Regions from separate parts of the Homo sapiens genome. Here all the other regions are linked to region 4. Evidence: promoter capture Hi-C in 16 types of primary human blood cells and fetal thymus (Javierre and others, 2016). All regions are on one chromosome and are shown on one strand. The core of a region is centred on a gene start or on the middle of the fragment in contact, and the rest is flanking DNA. Distances in the headings are between cores, read along the strand shown. Region 1 overlaps LOC105378856 (a long non-coding RNA gene). Region 2 overlaps LOC102723436 (a long non-coding RNA gene). Region 3 overlaps CDC7 (cell division cycle 7). Region 4 holds the start of BRDT (bromodomain testis associated). Region 5 overlaps CDC7 (cell division cycle 7). Region 6 has its middle 48 kb from the start of HFM1.

What was found. The method cuts DNA at HindIII sites, captures the fragments that hold promoters and counts their contacts. A CHiCAGO score of 5 or more calls a contact.
Region 1: a fragment that was not itself captured here is called in contact with the fragment with the promoter of BRDT in region 4 in 2 of 17 cell types (activated CD4 T cells and total CD8 T cells); the score reaches 5.1 in activated CD4 T cells.
Region 2: a fragment that was not itself captured here is called in contact with the fragment with the promoter of BRDT in region 4 in 2 of 17 cell types (total CD8 T cells and naive CD8 T cells); the score reaches 6.7 in total CD8 T cells.
Region 3: a contact is called between a fragment that was not itself captured here and the fragment with the promoter of BRDT in region 4, in 6 of 17 cell types (naive CD8 T cells, total CD8 T cells, M1 macrophages and 3 more). The highest score is 6.9, in naive CD8 T cells.
Region 5: a fragment that was not itself captured here is called in contact with the fragment with the promoter of BRDT in region 4 in 7 of 17 cell types (total CD8 T cells, naive CD4 T cells, endothelial precursors and 4 more); the score reaches 10.6 in total CD8 T cells.
Region 6: a fragment that was not itself captured here is called in contact with the fragment with the promoter of BRDT in region 4 in 3 of 17 cell types (M0 macrophages, endothelial precursors and monocytes); the score reaches 5.2 in M0 macrophages.

Annotation. Positions count from the first base shown.
Region 1 is chr1:91,486,580-91,489,279 of GRCh38, reverse strand. It overlaps LOC105378856 (a long non-coding RNA gene), which reads left to right. Exons shown (of 3, transcript XR_947599.4): 3 at 45-259. Among named protein-coding and RNA genes, the nearest start is that of CDC7, 13 kb to the left of the region's middle. The HindIII fragment of the contact is 3,637 bases long and covers 1-2,700 here.
Region 2 is chr1:91,545,693-91,548,392 of GRCh38, reverse strand. The region is part of intron 3 of LOC102723436 (a long non-coding RNA gene); the gene reads left to right. Among named protein-coding and RNA genes, the nearest start is that of CDC7, 46 kb to the right of the region's middle. The HindIII fragment of the contact is 2,350 bases long and covers 237-2,586 here.
Region 3 is chr1:91,525,217-91,527,916 of GRCh38, reverse strand. It overlaps CDC7 (cell division cycle 7), which reads right to left. Exons shown (of 12, transcript NM_003503.4): 12 at 2,153-2,700. The region is part of intron 4 of LOC102723436 (a long non-coding RNA gene); the gene reads left to right. Among named protein-coding and RNA genes, the nearest start is that of CDC7, 26 kb to the right of the region's middle. The HindIII fragment of the contact is 4,325 bases long and covers 1-2,700 here.
Region 4 is chr1:91,947,954-91,950,653 of GRCh38, reverse strand. BRDT (bromodomain testis associated) reads right to left here and starts at 1,253. Exons shown (of 19, transcript NM_207189.4): 1 at 972-1,253. The HindIII fragment of the contact is 8,652 bases long and covers 1-2,661 here.
Region 5 is chr1:91,504,703-91,507,402 of GRCh38, reverse strand. All of the region lies in intron 2 of CDC7 (cell division cycle 7), which reads right to left. Among named protein-coding and RNA genes, the nearest start is that of CDC7, 5.2 kb to the right of the region's middle. The HindIII fragment of the contact is 3,462 bases long and covers 1-2,700 here.
Region 6 is chr1:91,451,251-91,453,950 of GRCh38, reverse strand. No RefSeq gene overlaps it. Among named protein-coding and RNA genes, the nearest start is that of HFM1, 48 kb to the right of the region's middle. The HindIII fragment of the contact is 2,193 bases long and covers 331-2,523 here.

The DNA.
Region 1 (2,700 bases), core at 8-2,507, 460 kb after region 4:
TTGTGACTAGTGCTTTCTAATGGTAGTTTCTTTTTCTTGACAAGAGAGCAGCAGCTTAATCTTTCTATGTGAAAAAATACACTTGTCCCATGATCCTCCACAAGGCAGGAGATGGAGGAAATATTGCAGGAGTCTCTTTGCTGAAGTCTTTGTTAACAGCATGACCATGGATGGACAGTGACTGGCATTTAATTTTGACATGAGGAGGGAGGAGAAGCCAGCAATACTCAGTGCCTCTATTAAAGTGAAGGGAAAGACACACAGAGTCTTTTCTTGCTGCCACTTGTGTAGCTGGGAATGGGTTGTGGTAAAGTCAATAAAATTCTTCAACATCCTTCAATAACAATGATTCTAGTCCTTCTGAATGGTTCAAATTCTATGTTGATACTTATGTTCTCTAGTACATTATTCTCTCTCTAGCCACATGAAAAGGCTAGAGTACCACAAATGTCTCAAAATTTAGAGCTCCAAATTATGACACCTCTTTAGAAAGCTGGCAGGTCCTCTGGGTACTACAAAACTAGGGTTATATCCTCACTACCTAGAAATATCCCCTTGTGGTCATCTCTCAGAAAGGGTAACAGTGATCTCAGAGAATATGCTGTAGGGAGCTAAAAAGGATCCCTTGCCTTCTAAGCACCCTGAAGATCGTGAGCTGTATGTTTTAAGAATATATAGCTGGCCAGGTGCGGTGGCTGATATCTGTAATCTCAGCATTTTGGGAACCCAGAGCAGGTGGATCACTTCAGGTCAGGAGTTGGAGACCAGCCTGGCCAACACATCAAAACCCCGTCTTTACTAAAAATACAAAAATTAGCTGGGTATGGTGGTGAGAGCCTGTAATCCCTGCTACTGGGGAGGCTGAGGCCTGAGAATCACTTGAACCCGAGAGGCGAGGTTGCACTCCAGGCTGGGTGACAGAGTGAGACTCCGTCTCAAAAAAAAAAAAAAAAAAAAATATATATATATATATATATATGTATAGCCACTGTTTCTTCCAGCCATCACATAGCTAAGAAAATGGCTGAATGTGGCTACCAAAAAATAAAAGAGAAGGGAAAACAGAGGCCCAGGAATGAGAATGAACAGTGTCTCCTAGCATGTGATGTATAAGCATATCACCCCAAATAAATAGCAGTCTTACCAATAAAAATAAAAATTAAAAACACAATTATATTCAATTTTTAGATCCTGTAAGCAGACAAAATTATATTCGATTTTTAGATCCTGTGTTTAGATGAGTATTATTTAAACACTCATCTTCTATATTGCAAGAAATCACATCTCTGTGATCTATACTATGTTCCTGTGTTTCAATATTTCTGGTATGAAGCACATCTGGAACTTGTCAAAGAAAGTTAACTTTACAAGGTAGTTCCTTGTAGCAAGACCCCTGGCCAATGAGTTCTTTCTACCACATTTCCACTGTAGTTCACTCATGAGTAGTTACCATGAATATTAAACGTGAAGGATAAGTTCTCTTAAAGTTTACATTTTCCTTGAACAAATTGAGCACTTTATCATAAAATTGCTCTAACAACAAGCATTCCAAAATTTCTTTTTTCTTGTAAACCTTGAATAGACAGTTTTAGAAATGAATGTGATCACGTGATATGCCCACTTCCCTCTTTCGTGCCATTTTGTGGTTATGATTTTATATTTGACCTTTTTCAATATGAGGTTAGGAAGTCCTATGAAAGAAATTAATATAGGACTGATAATAGGGACTGATATAGTTTGGATGTTGTCCCCTCTAAGTGTCATGTGGAATTGTAATCCCCAGTGTTAGAAGTGGGGCTTGGTGGGAGGTGATTGGATCATGTGGGTGGGTTTCTCATGAATGGTTTAGCCTCATCCCCTAGGTGCTGTCCTCGTGATAGCGAGTTCTCAAGAGATGTGGCTCTTTACAAGTGTGCAGCATCTTTCCTCTGGCTCTCGCTTGCTCCTGCTTTTGCCACGTGACATGCCTGCTCCTGTTTCGCCTTCCACCATGAGTAAAAGCTCCCTGAGGCCTCCCCAGAAGCTGAGCAGATGCTGGCACCACACTTGTACAGCCTGCAGAACTGTGAACCAATTAAACTTCTTTTCTTTATAAATTACCAAGTCTCAGGTATTCCTTTATAGCAATACAAGAACCTCCTATAACATAGGGACTAAACATTCTTCTTAAAGCACCTGAGATGTTTTGGGATTCTGTCAAAACTCAACATCCCAGACTTTTGGTACTATTCAGTTTTGGTACATCCGGCACTGATGCAGTAATAACTCTTCAAGCATTCAGAATGTTAACTTACACTAAAATATGAATTGCTAAAGCTAGGACATATAAGATAGTGTCTGTCTGGGTTCCCCCAAAGCCCAGCAACATTTATTAAACAATGTGATTCCAGGGAGCAGGCATACAAAACAGGAAGGAGGAGAAGCCAAGATGAGTATGTATTAAATATTAAGGGTTTAGCCACTCCTGTGGATGACTGGCACACAATGCTGCAGTGTCTTCTGAGGAGGCTTTTGAAATGTATTGTAGAATTTTTCACCTCAGTTTAAAAGGGGAAGCAAATATTTATCCATTAGTGTCTGTCCCTCATGGGTCAACTCCCTCTCCCTTGCCAGAATGCTGAGTGGGTTCCTATGGGTGTTCTATATAGGGGTGCCAGAGGTTCCCCAGGGCAGACAGCTAGAGGAACACTTCACAGGTTG
Region 2 (2,700 bases), core at 162-2,661, 400 kb after region 4:
AACTAGCAGGCAGGACAGACAGTTCAATTATTAGAAAGTTGTCTACGGTGAAAACTGGGGACAGAAAGATAGGCTCTTGAGACCATATTTCTAAATCAGGGGCCAGTTTGGGAGGGAGAGGACCCCAGATCTGTGGCTGCTCAGATTTCCTCTCACCCTGTCCCTAGCCCACCATCTACCATCTATCTCCCTGATAGGATGGGTGACCATAGGTCCAGGTTGCCCAAGTTTAAGCTTGTTCCCAGAGCAGTCATTACTAAAGCAGGGATTCTTACACTTTTGTGTATACACCAATCACCTAGAGATCTTGTTAAAATGCAGACTTCTATGCAGTAGGTCTGGCTGGGTCCTGAGATTCTGCATTTCTTAAAAACTCCTAGGTGAGGCTGATGCTGTTTGCCTGAGGACTAGAGTAGCAAAGATCTACCTACCACTGGTTCTCAAATGTAACTATATCAGCATCATCTGGATTGACTCTGGGGTCCCAGACACACACACACACACACACACACACACACACGCACACACACACACGGTGTGCTTCAAGGGGGCTCAGAAAGACCTGCTCTGAAGTAGCCCCCTTCAAGAACTTCCATCTGCCTTTCCCACCAAATCTTTTTTTTTTTTTTAATTAAGGGAGCACAAACAAAAAATCACCGTGTTACCCTTAATGAATACATCTCAGTCTACACACAAGAGAAGGCATCATGGGACCTGGCAGCTCTCAGAGGGCATTGGGAGTGTAGCAGCTCTTCCTGCTCCAAAGAGCCACTCTAGAGTTTTCTAGAGTTTTTCCTTCAGACGTCCTGGTGTTTAGTTGTGTGGCATACATGAGGCTTTGTGGCAGTTGGTTAATATACTGTGGGACAAGAACTGAACTAGGCACTGTGTGGGACAGGGAAAGATGCACTCTGTGGCTTTAGGGAATTTGAAATTAAAAGATAAGATTTCAGATTCTTTCAAAGCCCGAGCTAAACACATGAAAAAAACAAAAACAAAAACAACAACAACAAAAAACACAGAACACCAGAGTGCTGAAAACAGAAGAATTGCAGTGGATGGGGTTGGAAAAGAAAGGCTTCCAGTTAGAAGTCAATTTCACACCGTGTTTTGCAGGAGCGAGTCCAGCGGATTCGTGGAAATGGATGGAGGCTGCTGAGTTGAGAGACTGAGAAGTGGAGGTACCTAGGAAGGTCCTCCCTGAAAATACATCGGGTTGTAAAACCTGGAAAGAAATACCTCCATTTGTCAGGCACTCACAGGGCGCTCTCCTCTGGCAGCTCCCATGTTGAGCGCCCAGGGCAGCGACCAGACGGCGTCCTGTCCTCCTGCACGGGGCCAGAACTGGATGGTCCCGCGACACATCGTGTCTGCAGCTTTAGAGGCCTCCCCAGGAGTGCTACCGCGGTCATTTCTGCCCAGCTGTAAAATAACACCCAATCAGCGAGCCGCCAGCTGCAAACTGTTCCGACCTACTCCTCCCTCCCCGGCTTAATTCCCACCTATACCAAAGTGGCCCCACGCGGGCAGAAGCGAAAGACGGAAATGAGGGGAGGCCAACTACTCGAGATCTGCGCCCGAAGCAGATTTTCCACGCGCTCAGAGTAGGGTCGGGGAAAGGCCCACTTGGGGCTTCTGAGAGAGAGGGAAGGGCAGGGAAAGGGCTGCCCCCCAGCAAGACACAGTTGGGTGAACAACTGAGTCTTTGCCTCGTTGACAAAGGAGAATGAGGGACTCGCGCCAGGCTGGCTTGAACTGACTGGAGAAAAGCGACTTCTGTAATTCAGGGCCCTCCTCGTGCGAAGGAAACTTTGGCAAAGCAGAAAGACAGGCATGCAGTTTCCAGGCGGAAAAACGTGAACCATGGGACATGATGGGCTCCAGGGCCGTGGATGCAGTTGCCCGAGGCCCCAGGGCCGCCCCCGGAAGGCCGGGACTGCCAGGGACTCGGCGTGGGGGTGCTGACTGCCGCTCCAGGCCTCGGGGTTCAAGCACTCCAGCAGCATCCGCTCACCACGCTCCCCGCCCACTTCCATGATCACGAGGGGGCAAGGCTAGCCAATCCGGGGTGGCCACTGCCCGGCCCTGCGAGGACTCGAGGCGCACTGGGAAACTGCGCGGTGCCTAGAGGTACAAAGAACAGGTCCTGGGAGGGTAGTAGGAGGGGACCTTAGCACAGCCTATGTCAGTTTGTCAACAAGGATTTGCTGAGAAGTCGCACTGTGCTCAGCATAGCGGCACTGCCTACCTAATGGGCTTTGGGGCATAGACAGTGAATAACCTGGCAGTGATAATAGTGTGCTGAAAGAAAGGCCAGCCCCAACAGCCACTACAGGAACCTCAGAAAGGAGGGGGCGTCCCTGTTAGTGGCTGATACTGGATTTCTCTCATTGTGTTCGTGGCTGGCGCCAAACCAGAGATCATAATGTATAACAAATAAATGTGAAGTTTCTTACATCCAAGTGGCCAGGGAAAACCTATACTAATTACATGGTACAAACCCGCTGTGATCAGGTGCTAAATTGGGTGGCAGTCAGAGTACAGCTGTAGAGATATCTCTGAGGGCCAGAGTGATCAGGAAAAGCTTTGTGGAAGAGGAAGAACTGGAGTTAGGTGCTGAATGACGGGCAGGATATGGACAAGCAGAGGAAAGTGGGAAGGCGTTCCAGGAGGGAAGGGGCAGCATAGCCAAAGCCCGGG
Region 3 (2,700 bases), core at 110-2,609, 420 kb after region 4:
GTCCTAGCTAAAGTCATTTCTAGATCATGTGCTACAGTCTTCAGAGAAGTTATGGAAGGAATTTACACAAAGGGCAAATACATAATTGAATACATGTATAAAAACACATCAATAGAATGTGGATAAAGAACATAGGCAAAAATTCTGATTAGAAGGAAATCAATGGATCTTTCATTTTCTGATTTGTACTACTCACTCCACAGCTGACAGTGTTCAGTTTCTTCAGGATGTCTGTCAGAAGCCCATTCCTTGATCCATCTTCTTGGTTGCCTGCTGGAGTAACACTGGCATTCTCTAAATCTAGAACTAGAGAGATGTATCTATAAAGTATTTATTCCCTATTTTCCTTCATATGTTGTTTTCTAGTGCTAAGCCTGTTATTTTCCTTAAAGAATTGCTTCAGTAGGGTCCAAGATGGAATCAGCTAATGGCTAACACATGATGTGTTAAATTCGGAAGAGTAATTTTGCACATGGTTTATGCTTAAATAGAAATTCTAAACCATTTACATCTGTTTTCTGGTCATCGTTCTTGCTTTATAAAAAAACTATGCGTATGCTCTCCAAATAAGTTTTTATTTTGCCCATTTTGAACTCTTCCATATATTAATTTTTTAAAGCACTCAAAACAGAGATCGAGAACAATTGTGTCCTTTTAGTTCATTGTCTTCTACAGAAGAAAAAATCAGGTCAGATTAAACTCTTGAAACTGTTGCAATTACTTGTTTTCCAAACTTCAGTTTTTTAATTTTCTCTCTTTTAATTTGCAATCACTTTCCTAAGATCATGCCTTTTTACTTTAGATAGCTAAAACATCGTTTACTAAATATTTGCCTTAGCACTGACCTTTGTGGTTACTTTGTTGAAAACTGTGCTGTAACTTGACACAATATTAACTACTTCTGATTACTTATCTGGTATACGTTTGGTAATATCTACCTTTCAAGAAAGGAAGACAGTTCAGACACATAATTTGACAAAATTAGGAATCAGCAACATCAGTTCTTCGAACATAGGAAAAAATCTGAACAGAGTTGACATTTCTATCTGGTGTTAGTGTTCTTTAAAGACCACAGACAACATGCACAAATGTAGGCGGAAACAATACATCTGCAGATACTGGCAGACAGCATTACCCGCCAAATTTGGCCAGTTTGTTAAGATAAATAACTTTTCAGTGACGTGCAGGGCTGAAATTACATAAACAACAGAAATTACTAAGACTTAAGCCTACGAGTTTTGTGGGTTTCAAGATTTTATGCAATCAATATTCTGACATCTGTAACACCATTTTGTCCCTAAAATGCTGATGCCAGGAACAGTAAGATATTAACGTTTTACTTGATGACTTGCTCATTATCTTGAAGTAAACCATGATTAATTCTTTGGAATAACCATTATTGAGCCACATATTTAGGTCATTAAGACAACTATAATCATCTCCTTATAAGGAAGTTTCATTAAAAATGCCAGAGAGCTCAGCCTGCTTCAAAAACCAATACTTGTAGCTTGTTATATTAATAGTTCTAAATGTCTAAGGCTTTTTAAATGAAAATACCCTTAACAGTTTTATCGAGCCTGAGCACTAGGAATTTTTAAAAACTGACAGTGAAAAATAGCTGATTAAGAGGAAATGGCATTAACTAGTTACCTTCTTAGTCTATCCTTAGAAATTCAAATATTTTAGAGACATTTCCCATTATTTAAAATGGTCTTCAGAAGGCTTAAAAATCTAAAGAATACGCATATAAAAGCTCCCTGCCAATTCTGATTTAGCACATTGGGAATATTTGTCCAAAATTGAGGCAATATTCTTCAGTGGGACTGAAATTCCCCGAGAACTAATTTGTAACACTGGGTATATTTAAAAACACTAGCTCCCTTTTACTTCCCCCTCAATATCAACCAAGTTCTTTGCCATTAATGAAAGTTAAAACAACAGCCCTGAATATTAAACTTTCTTAGAGAATGTCTCCTTATCTACCCTTTGGGTAAATTTTTCTTCCTCTTTAATTTCTGAATATATGTTAACATGACTGTTTCATTAACATACTATTTGCTGAAAGAATATCACCATTCACCCATCTCAAAAGAAAAATATTCCCAGTTGTCAATTAAAAAAAAAAGCTATTTTTCAAATGAGTAGTCTGACATAAAAAATATAAAAGGATAACTTTATTGAATATACAAATTCAAGAGCATTCAAATTTTTTTTAAGATTATGGCATAAGACAGATCAATGGTAATGGTTTATATATCCTATACTTACCAAACAGATTAGGTAGATATACTGACCTATCAATGCTCAAAATAACAAAATGAATACATGTCCCTAAACTATTTCTGTATTCTATGACTACTAAATGGGAAATCTGTCAGCTGACCACCCACCAGACTTTTTCCCATAGGAAGTTTGATATGCTGTCATTGATATATACCATTTCTGAATATAAACCTCTATCTTGGGTCCTTTTCTCTTTGCCTACTTCATTATCTGTCTTCCCAACCCACCTAAGACTTAGTCAAAACAGGATACAGAGATCTGGATGGCTCTACGCAGAGGAAAAATCTCCAATAATACCGTCAATTCTGTATTCACTTTTCCTTTCAGCAGCTACCTAATTATATCTAAGATGGTGTGAAAAAATATACAACTCAAAAAAGAAAAGCATTTGGACTATCAATCTTCACCTTGGTCCTG
Region 4 (2,700 bases), core at 4-2,503:
TACATACATCCATGCCTTTGAGAAACTTCTCTTTACCTGAACTTCCCTCCTCACTTTTTAGTCTAACTTCTATTTGTCCCTCAAGATCAAGACGAGTTATCACTTCTGCCCAAGAGCCTCTCTCATTCCCTCCCATCCACCCAGGCCTTTCCCTTGAGTCCCAAAGTCCCTGTACATACCTCTTTCTTTTTTGGGGGGAGCGGGGAGACGGAGTCTCACTCTGTCGCCCAGGCTGGAGTGCACTGGCGTGATCTCGGCGCACTGCAACTTCCGCCTCCTGGGTTCAAGCGATTCTCCTGCCTCAGCCTCCCGAGTAGCTGGGACTACAGGCGCCTGCCATCACACCCAGCTAATTTTTGTATTTTTGGTAGAGATGGGCATTTCATTATGTTGGCCAGGCTGGTCTTGAACTCCTGACCTCAGGTGATCCACTTGCCTCGGCCTCCGAAAGTGCTGAGATTACAGGGGCGAGCCACTGCACCCGGCCTCCTCTATCTTAATTCTTAATACAGGCCAGCGCGCCTTGAAGTAAAGCCCACCACAATCCTGCAGTACCCAAAAGAGGGTTCAGACGTTCCAGGGGCTTAATAAAGTTAATTGAATAAATAAATGAAGCAAGAACCCGAACTTCCCCGTCCCAAATGACCACTTGCAGAATAAACACAAAATGCCAGCTAAAGCTAAACGCTCCGTACTTTCTCCTGCATTTCCAAAATTACAGTACAGGCAGCAGCGATCCACACCAGTCCAAGACCTAAGAGGAACTACAAAGACCATGAGTATTTTTCAAAATGGGAGGAGGCAGTTGGACAACTGGACCTCCCACTCCCTCGCCCCAACCTCCTCCTTCCCAGCCCTCCCTTGAAGAAAAACCAGACATTTAGGGGAAAAGAGGGAGAGAGAGAAAAAGATCCCTTGGGGGCAACGAGCCTGAAGTTGGTAAGGCCAAAGGGAAGCGACTGGCAACTCACCTGGGCTGCAGGCACGAAGCGGGGTGGCCTTCTCAACTGCCCGGACTGTCGCACGATGTTGATGGGGTCGGGGAGGGGAGAGGGGGGAAAAAACGGTTGTTCCCACCCAAGGCCGCACCTCGGGGCCGGCCTAAGGCAGCACCCCCTGTGGAGGGTACATTACCTGTATGTTACCTGTATATTACAAAACCGACCTTATGTGATTGCCCCTTTCAGGCTGCACAAAATGAAGCGGTGCAGGGCAACAGTTCTCCGCAGTTCCTCGCCGCCAGTTTTTGTTGTAATGGCGGTCGCGCGACAGGCGCTTTTATAGAAGACCCCCCGCGGGCGGCCTGCCCATTGGTCTGAACCTGTCACGTGACCACACCCAGCCCCGGGCGGTGCAAAAAAGGTGTAGGAGTCTGAGCCGGGCAGCTCAGGCCTGTTAGGGCAGGCAGAGTGGGTTCGGGTGATTGCCGTGTAGAGAGCCGGGGGTTAGGAGTAGGAGCGCTACACTCAAGGCGTTTGCTGTTAACACGACGTTTTCACTAATCAGTTAGCCTAGTAGAGGTTCTTGAGTTTTGGCTTCTGATGTTTTCGTGGTTTTCACGCTTTTTTCCCCAGCCTTCTCCACAGTTCCTGTCTCTTGCACGTAGTGAGTGCTTGATCAATATTAGGTAGCAGCTGAGGCTAGAGACATACTCTCTTTGGGTTTAAAGTGGCAATTTAAGAGCTGTTTCGCAACAGCTGCGTACTGATGAGTGCGTGATTTAGGATTTTGAGTCTTCGCAACTACCTCTTGATGGTTTGCAGATACTTTAGAGGTGCTAACATGTATCAGAAGAATATATTTAGTACAGTAGTTTCCCTTAGGATCAAATAGCAAACAACGCTTCTGAATTCCTAATACTCATTCGCAGTGGATGGATGGGAAGGGGAGGGCAAAAACAGCTGACAAGCTGCTCGCAAATCCGGCCAAAAAACCATCGATCTCCAGTTTCCTGAAGCGGAAGTCTGGGGGCCATTAACAGCTTGACACGTCTTAATTCAATCACTTTGATGTGGCAGGAAAGAACCAAGTGTTCACAAGAAAGCAACGCACTTGATCTACTTACTAGACGTCACATAAATACCTGGATTGGCAAGCACTTTTTGTTTAGATTTAATTTTCGTGTTCTTGTTTTTGCTGTTTAAAGTAGTATTAATGGTGTGGCTGCAGGCGCCTGCAATGCCCGTTACTGGGGAGGTTAAAGCGGAAGGCTCACTTAATCCCAAGGTTTCAAGGCCAGCCAGAGCAACAACGTGAAACTCTAATAGATTAGAGATTAGATATAGAGATTATCTTATTGTTCAGGAAAAGAGTAGATGGGTACAGACTTAGGGTGTGACTCTCACATCATGAAAAATCTGAAAGAAGTCAAGGGAAATGAAAGAGAGGAATGACTCAGTACAAATTTTGCCCCAACTATCAACTTTTTGACCTTCCTCTTGAGAATTAGTGGCAGGGAGACATGTACACTCTAGGTAAAGAAGATTGAGTGATTTTTTTGAGATTGAGTCTTGCTCTGTGGCCCAGGCTGGAATGAAGCAATGCAATCATAACTCAAGGTAGTCTCGAACTCCTGAGCTCAAGCATCCTCCTACCTCAGCCTCTCCAGGTACTGTAGGTGCAGACCACCACATTGCCTTCTGAACCATCTTTTAAAAAGCTTAATCTCAGGCTGGGCTCGGTGGTTCATGCCTGTAATCC
Region 5 (2,700 bases), core at 10-2,509, 440 kb after region 4:
AAGGCCTACTAAAGCTCTCAAGCATGTAAAAAAGTATTTTTAAAAATTTGTCCCAATTGCCAGTAGTATCCTCTATCCTTGACTGCAGATAAATTGCTACTTTTAAATAAGTATCAGTTCTTTATAAAAATGTACATAGTTAAAACAAGGGGAGGCAATAATACAAAACCCAGTAAACTACTGGATACAGAAGAGAACTAGATAAGTCTTCAGATTTTATTACAGTATCTAGGCTCTACTAGCCCTATATAGCATAAGTTTAAGACATTTTCAAAGCACCGGCACATGCAGTATCTTTTGAGGTCTTCCTAACAGTACTGTGAACTTGGCAGAGCAGGAATGATTATCCTGATTTTTCAGATAAGGAAACTCAATTCAGGGAGGTTAAATCATTTGCCCAATTTCACAGAGGTGTTGCTGATTATATATATTTTCTAATTTTCTTTCTTTTTTGAGATGGAGTCTCACTCTGTTGCCCAGGTTGGAGTGCAGTGATGTAATCTCCACTCACTGCAACCTCTGCCTCCTGCGTTCAAGAGATTCTCATGCCTCAGCCTCATGGGCAGCTGGAATTACAGGCACGCAACACCACGCCCAGCTAATTTTTGTGTTTTTAGTAGAGACGGGGTTTCACCACAATGGCCAGGCTGGTCTTGAACTCCTGACCTCAAGTGATCTGCCCACCTTGGCCTCCCAAAGTGCTGGGATTACAGGTGTGAGCCGCCGCACCTGGCTAGAACTAATTCATTTAAATAAACGCTGTCTTAAAAAATGCTCAGCAATGGGTATGTAAAAAAAACCAATAAATTTGATGCAGCCACTAAGAGCTTGGTCTAGTAAAGGAAACATGTTATCATTCTTAATACAAGGTGACACCTGTAATAAAAGAATGTATATACTACTAGGTTGGGGAGGATTTCTGAAGGTGATAGGAAGCCTTCAGTTGACAGCTAAGTTTTGTTCTGAAGCATTCACCAAGTAGTGAAAGTGGAAGAAAACATTTTAGGAAAAATTAACTACGTCTGTAAAGACAGGAACAAGAAAAAAAAAAGGCTTGGATGATTAGGGTAGGGGGAGGGCTGAGAGACAATGAAATACAATGTGGCCTGGGGCGGTGGCTCAGGCCTGTAATCCCAGCACTTTAGGAGACCAAGGCAAGAAGACTGCTTGAGGCCAGGTGTTTGAGACCCTATCTCTTAAAAAAGCTAAAAAACAAACAAACAAACAAAAATTAGCTGGGCTTTGTAACACGGGCCTGTAGTCTCAGCTACAGAGACTGAGGCAGAAGGATACCTTGAGCCCAGGAGTTTGAGGTTACTAAACTATGATCGTGCCACTGTACTCCAGCCTGGGTGATGGAAGAGGGAGACCCTGTCTCAATAATAATAACAATAATAACAATAATAGAAATAGAATGTGGCTGAGGAAGACAAGAGAGAATGCACATGAAAGCTATAGGAAGTTTTTAAGCAGAAAAATGACAAGTGGAGAACAGATGTGAAAGGGAGGAGAAACATTAAGGGTACTTCCACACCACTACTCACTTATTATGCATCTACTCCTCTTTACAAAAATCAAAATGTTTATTAAGGTTTCCTGTCACTTCAGAACAACTTCAACAATTTTAAACAACAGTAAAACTTCCTGGCAACCAAAGTGAATGCAATATCCTCAAATTCTGAAGTGGGAAATGACAGCAGAAAGCAGAAAAGTGCATTCATGTCAAAAGCTGGAAAACAGTACTAAAGACAGACAAATGAAACAGACTTTGAGGACTGGAGGAGGATCCCGAAAATCTATAATATGCTAAAAATTATTTAAATGCCTCTATTTTATACATGAAGGTCTAGGCTTCTATTTTGACATTTTAAGTCACTTTTGTTTTCTGCTGCATAATATATCCAAGTTGGTTTTAATATACCAATAGTCTCCTTAACTACACTCCTTGCCAGCCTGGAGTCTATCTGTAACATAGTAGCCAGTCGGCTTGCAACATAGCAAACAGAGTTTAAACAGAGTATTCTGATAAAGCTAAGTCACCTTGTCACTATTGTGCTCAAAACCTCTAATGGTTTCACATCTCACTCCATTAGAAAGCCTCTTTACATCTCTCTTTGACTTCATTCCAATTACCTTCCCCATTCTAGCCACAATGACCTCCTTGCTATTCTTGAATGCTAGGCACACTCCCATCTCAGGGTCTTTGTACTTGCCGTTTCAGGGTCTTTGTACTTGCCGTTTCCTCTGTTTGGAATGCTCTTCCCCAAATATCTGCACAGGTCACTCCTTCACCACCTTGAAGTCTTAGCTCAAATGTTACAGAAGGCTATGAGCAACCATACTCACTAAAATTACAATCTCCTTCCCCAATACTTCCTATCTCCCCTTCCCTTTTACATTTTCTTAGTAACATTAATCACTTTTGAGCACAGTATTTACTTCTTTTGTTTACTCTCTGTCTATTGTCTAACTACCACAGTGTTAATTTCTGTTTTATGGTTTGATTTATCCCTAGCACCTAAAAAAGTACATGTATATAACAGACAATAAATATTCATCACATAAATGAAACGTTTTCAATATCTTGTCATGGATTAAAACTGACACTCTAGGCATATAGTCATGGTTATTCTGGGGCTTCATGTACTCTCTGGTTTATACCTCCTGGAACTAGGGGATAATACATAATATAAGCCCAAA
Region 6 (2,700 bases), core at 178-2,677, 500 kb after region 4:
GAGATATATCCATCCCAGGAACCAGGTACTTCTCTCTGTTGCTGAGGGTACTCTTTCTACTAAATGACGACAATGATAAATCACATCTAAGAAGTTGAATGATTGATTGGATGTGGTGAATGAGGTGAAAGTAAGAGTCATAACCCTCCCCTCCCCCCAGTTCTTTATGACTTGAGTAACTCGATGTGTAATGGAGCCATATGATTGTTCTCTAAGAGAATAATAGTTATCCGTTTTGGACATACTCAGTGGTTTAGGGATGCCTTTGAGACATCCAAATTGAAATGTCCTATAGGCAGTTCTATATTCAGATATGTTAACTCGCAAGCTTAATCTGCACCAGAGAGATAACTTTGGGATTTGTCAGTGTATAGATAACTAAAGCCATGTGAATTGATAATATTTCCTCAGGGAAATATTAAAGAGAACAGAGAGTAGAGGGCCTAGGAAAGAATTCTGAGGAATACCAACATTTACTAGTTGGTTAGAGGATGAGAGACTGACATAAGAGACTTAGTATAGCCAAAAAAGTAGAAGGAGAATCAGCAGTGTGTGCTAACATGGAAACCAAGACCAGAGACTATTTAAAGAAAGGTGTGTAGGCGCTTCCTGAATGGTGATGTAAATTCCAAGCATAAAATGGCTGTAGCTCTGCATAGAGTTAAGTGTCTCAAATTTAGCAAGATTCTACCTGAGCAGACATGGTCACTGGCAGCAGTGTTCCCTGTTAGGGACCTTAAGGAGCCTTGGAAAAATCCTCTGCATCTATGCAGCATCTGCCCTGCCATGGCAGGGGGCACTATGTTTGGTCTGCATTTATGTATAATTTTCTATATAAATAAGAGAATGAAGAACTTCATTGGATTAACAACAATATAACTAAAAAAAACTTGGTATTCAGCAGTATCTGGATCAAATGTCTTTGGTGAACTTCAGCATAGCAATGGGGGTGGAATAATGAGAATGGGCTGAGAAACCAAAGACTTGCTCCTAAAAGAAGGGTGTGTGTGTGTGTGTGTGTGTGTGTGTGTGTGTGTGTGTGCATAAAGCAAATATATACTACCAAACATTAGGGGAAGAACTGGATCAGAGTGTTGCAAAACACCCTTTGAAAAGTTATTTTATACTCAGAAATTTTACTTTAGTATGTTAGTTTGATCTTTCTTTTCAAGAGCCATTAGTGATGGCTTTAAAAAATTAAGTCTGAAAATGCTGAACTCTTTCTGGGAATATTTGATGCCTACAGAGTATGGCTTGGAACCCTGACACCAGAGGAATGTTGTCGTCATTGATTAAAAGCGAGTAGCTGCATATGGCCTGTCCACATTAAACTAAGGTCAAAGTTCAAAACTCAGAAATATTAAACACACACTTAGGATGACATCTGACAACCTCAGTCTGCAGGATGGAACTCTAATAAAAGTTAAAGGACCATGTGCTGCACTCAGCCACACACTCAACTCCCACTGCTATTGAGAGACATCATTCTTGGCTTAAACCAGCAAAGCGGGATATGAAGGCATGCCATTCACTTGTACTCCCTTTGGGAACAAATTAACTTTGAAAAATTCCCAGAGATGTCTGATTCATGAAGGACCATGTAAAAAGGAAAATCCAGATGCTTCCATGAATAGTAGGGCAGTAGACATTTTCTCCTCTTGGGGTGAAGAGGATTGGAGGGGTTTGGGGGCAAGGGGGCAATTCTCCTTAAACAGTCATCCCCACACCCACATGCTCAAAACCATTTAAAATGGCTCTCCAGGCTTCATATTCTCTTTCATCTAAACCCATAATTAAGAATGGCTGTTTTTAACTCACTTTCCAAAGAACAAGGGTGCCGTATACCAGGACGTGGTAGCTACTGCGGTGCAATAACCCCAGAATTGCAGTAGCTACTAACCTGTTTTCCTCTTGTACAATTTTCATTCATCTCTGGCAAGCAGGCAAATACTAATCCGTACTGAGACCTGGAAGGTATCCCAAAGGAATCAACCTGACTCCATGCTTTGCCTCTCTAAAATACCCCTAAATGGGACTGTGTTACTGGTGGGACCTCACCGTAATTTTGTAGAAGACCAGAGGCTTTGGCATCAGACAGATCTGGTTTCAAGTCCTAGCCCTGCTACTTGCTCTCTGTATGAGCACTTTGCTTTGCCTTGATTCCTGTTTCTTTATTTGAATAATGGGCACAAATAGGGTTATTGTGAGAATTAAGTGAGACAATTCGTGTAAAATCCAAACACAGTATCTGACATAGAGTAAGGGCTCTGAATAAATGTTAACTGTTAGATATATTAAAAGGGCTGGAAATTATTATAAATTTAGCACAGTTGGAAATAATATTTCAAGTGAAAAGCTATTGGAATCATAGGTTTCTTCAAAGAGCCTCATACATAATAGAAATGCTTTTCTAAAATTTAGAGAAACTTTAAAGGAACTTTGATTATGATTTCTAAAAAGGCAAGGATTGAGAGACTTTAATAAGACATTCCTTTATCATGACAAAACTAGCCTAGGAAAGCTTCATCCAAGAATTGTCACAGCATCAATTTTAGGAACTCAGGTTGAAACAACATGCCTCCCCTGCCTCAACCCCACTTTGCATACATGATGATTATAAAATGAAATAAAATAACAAATATAATTATGCTGTGATAAAAAGCATTTTAAAACACAGTACAGAAATAAGTAAGATTTGGG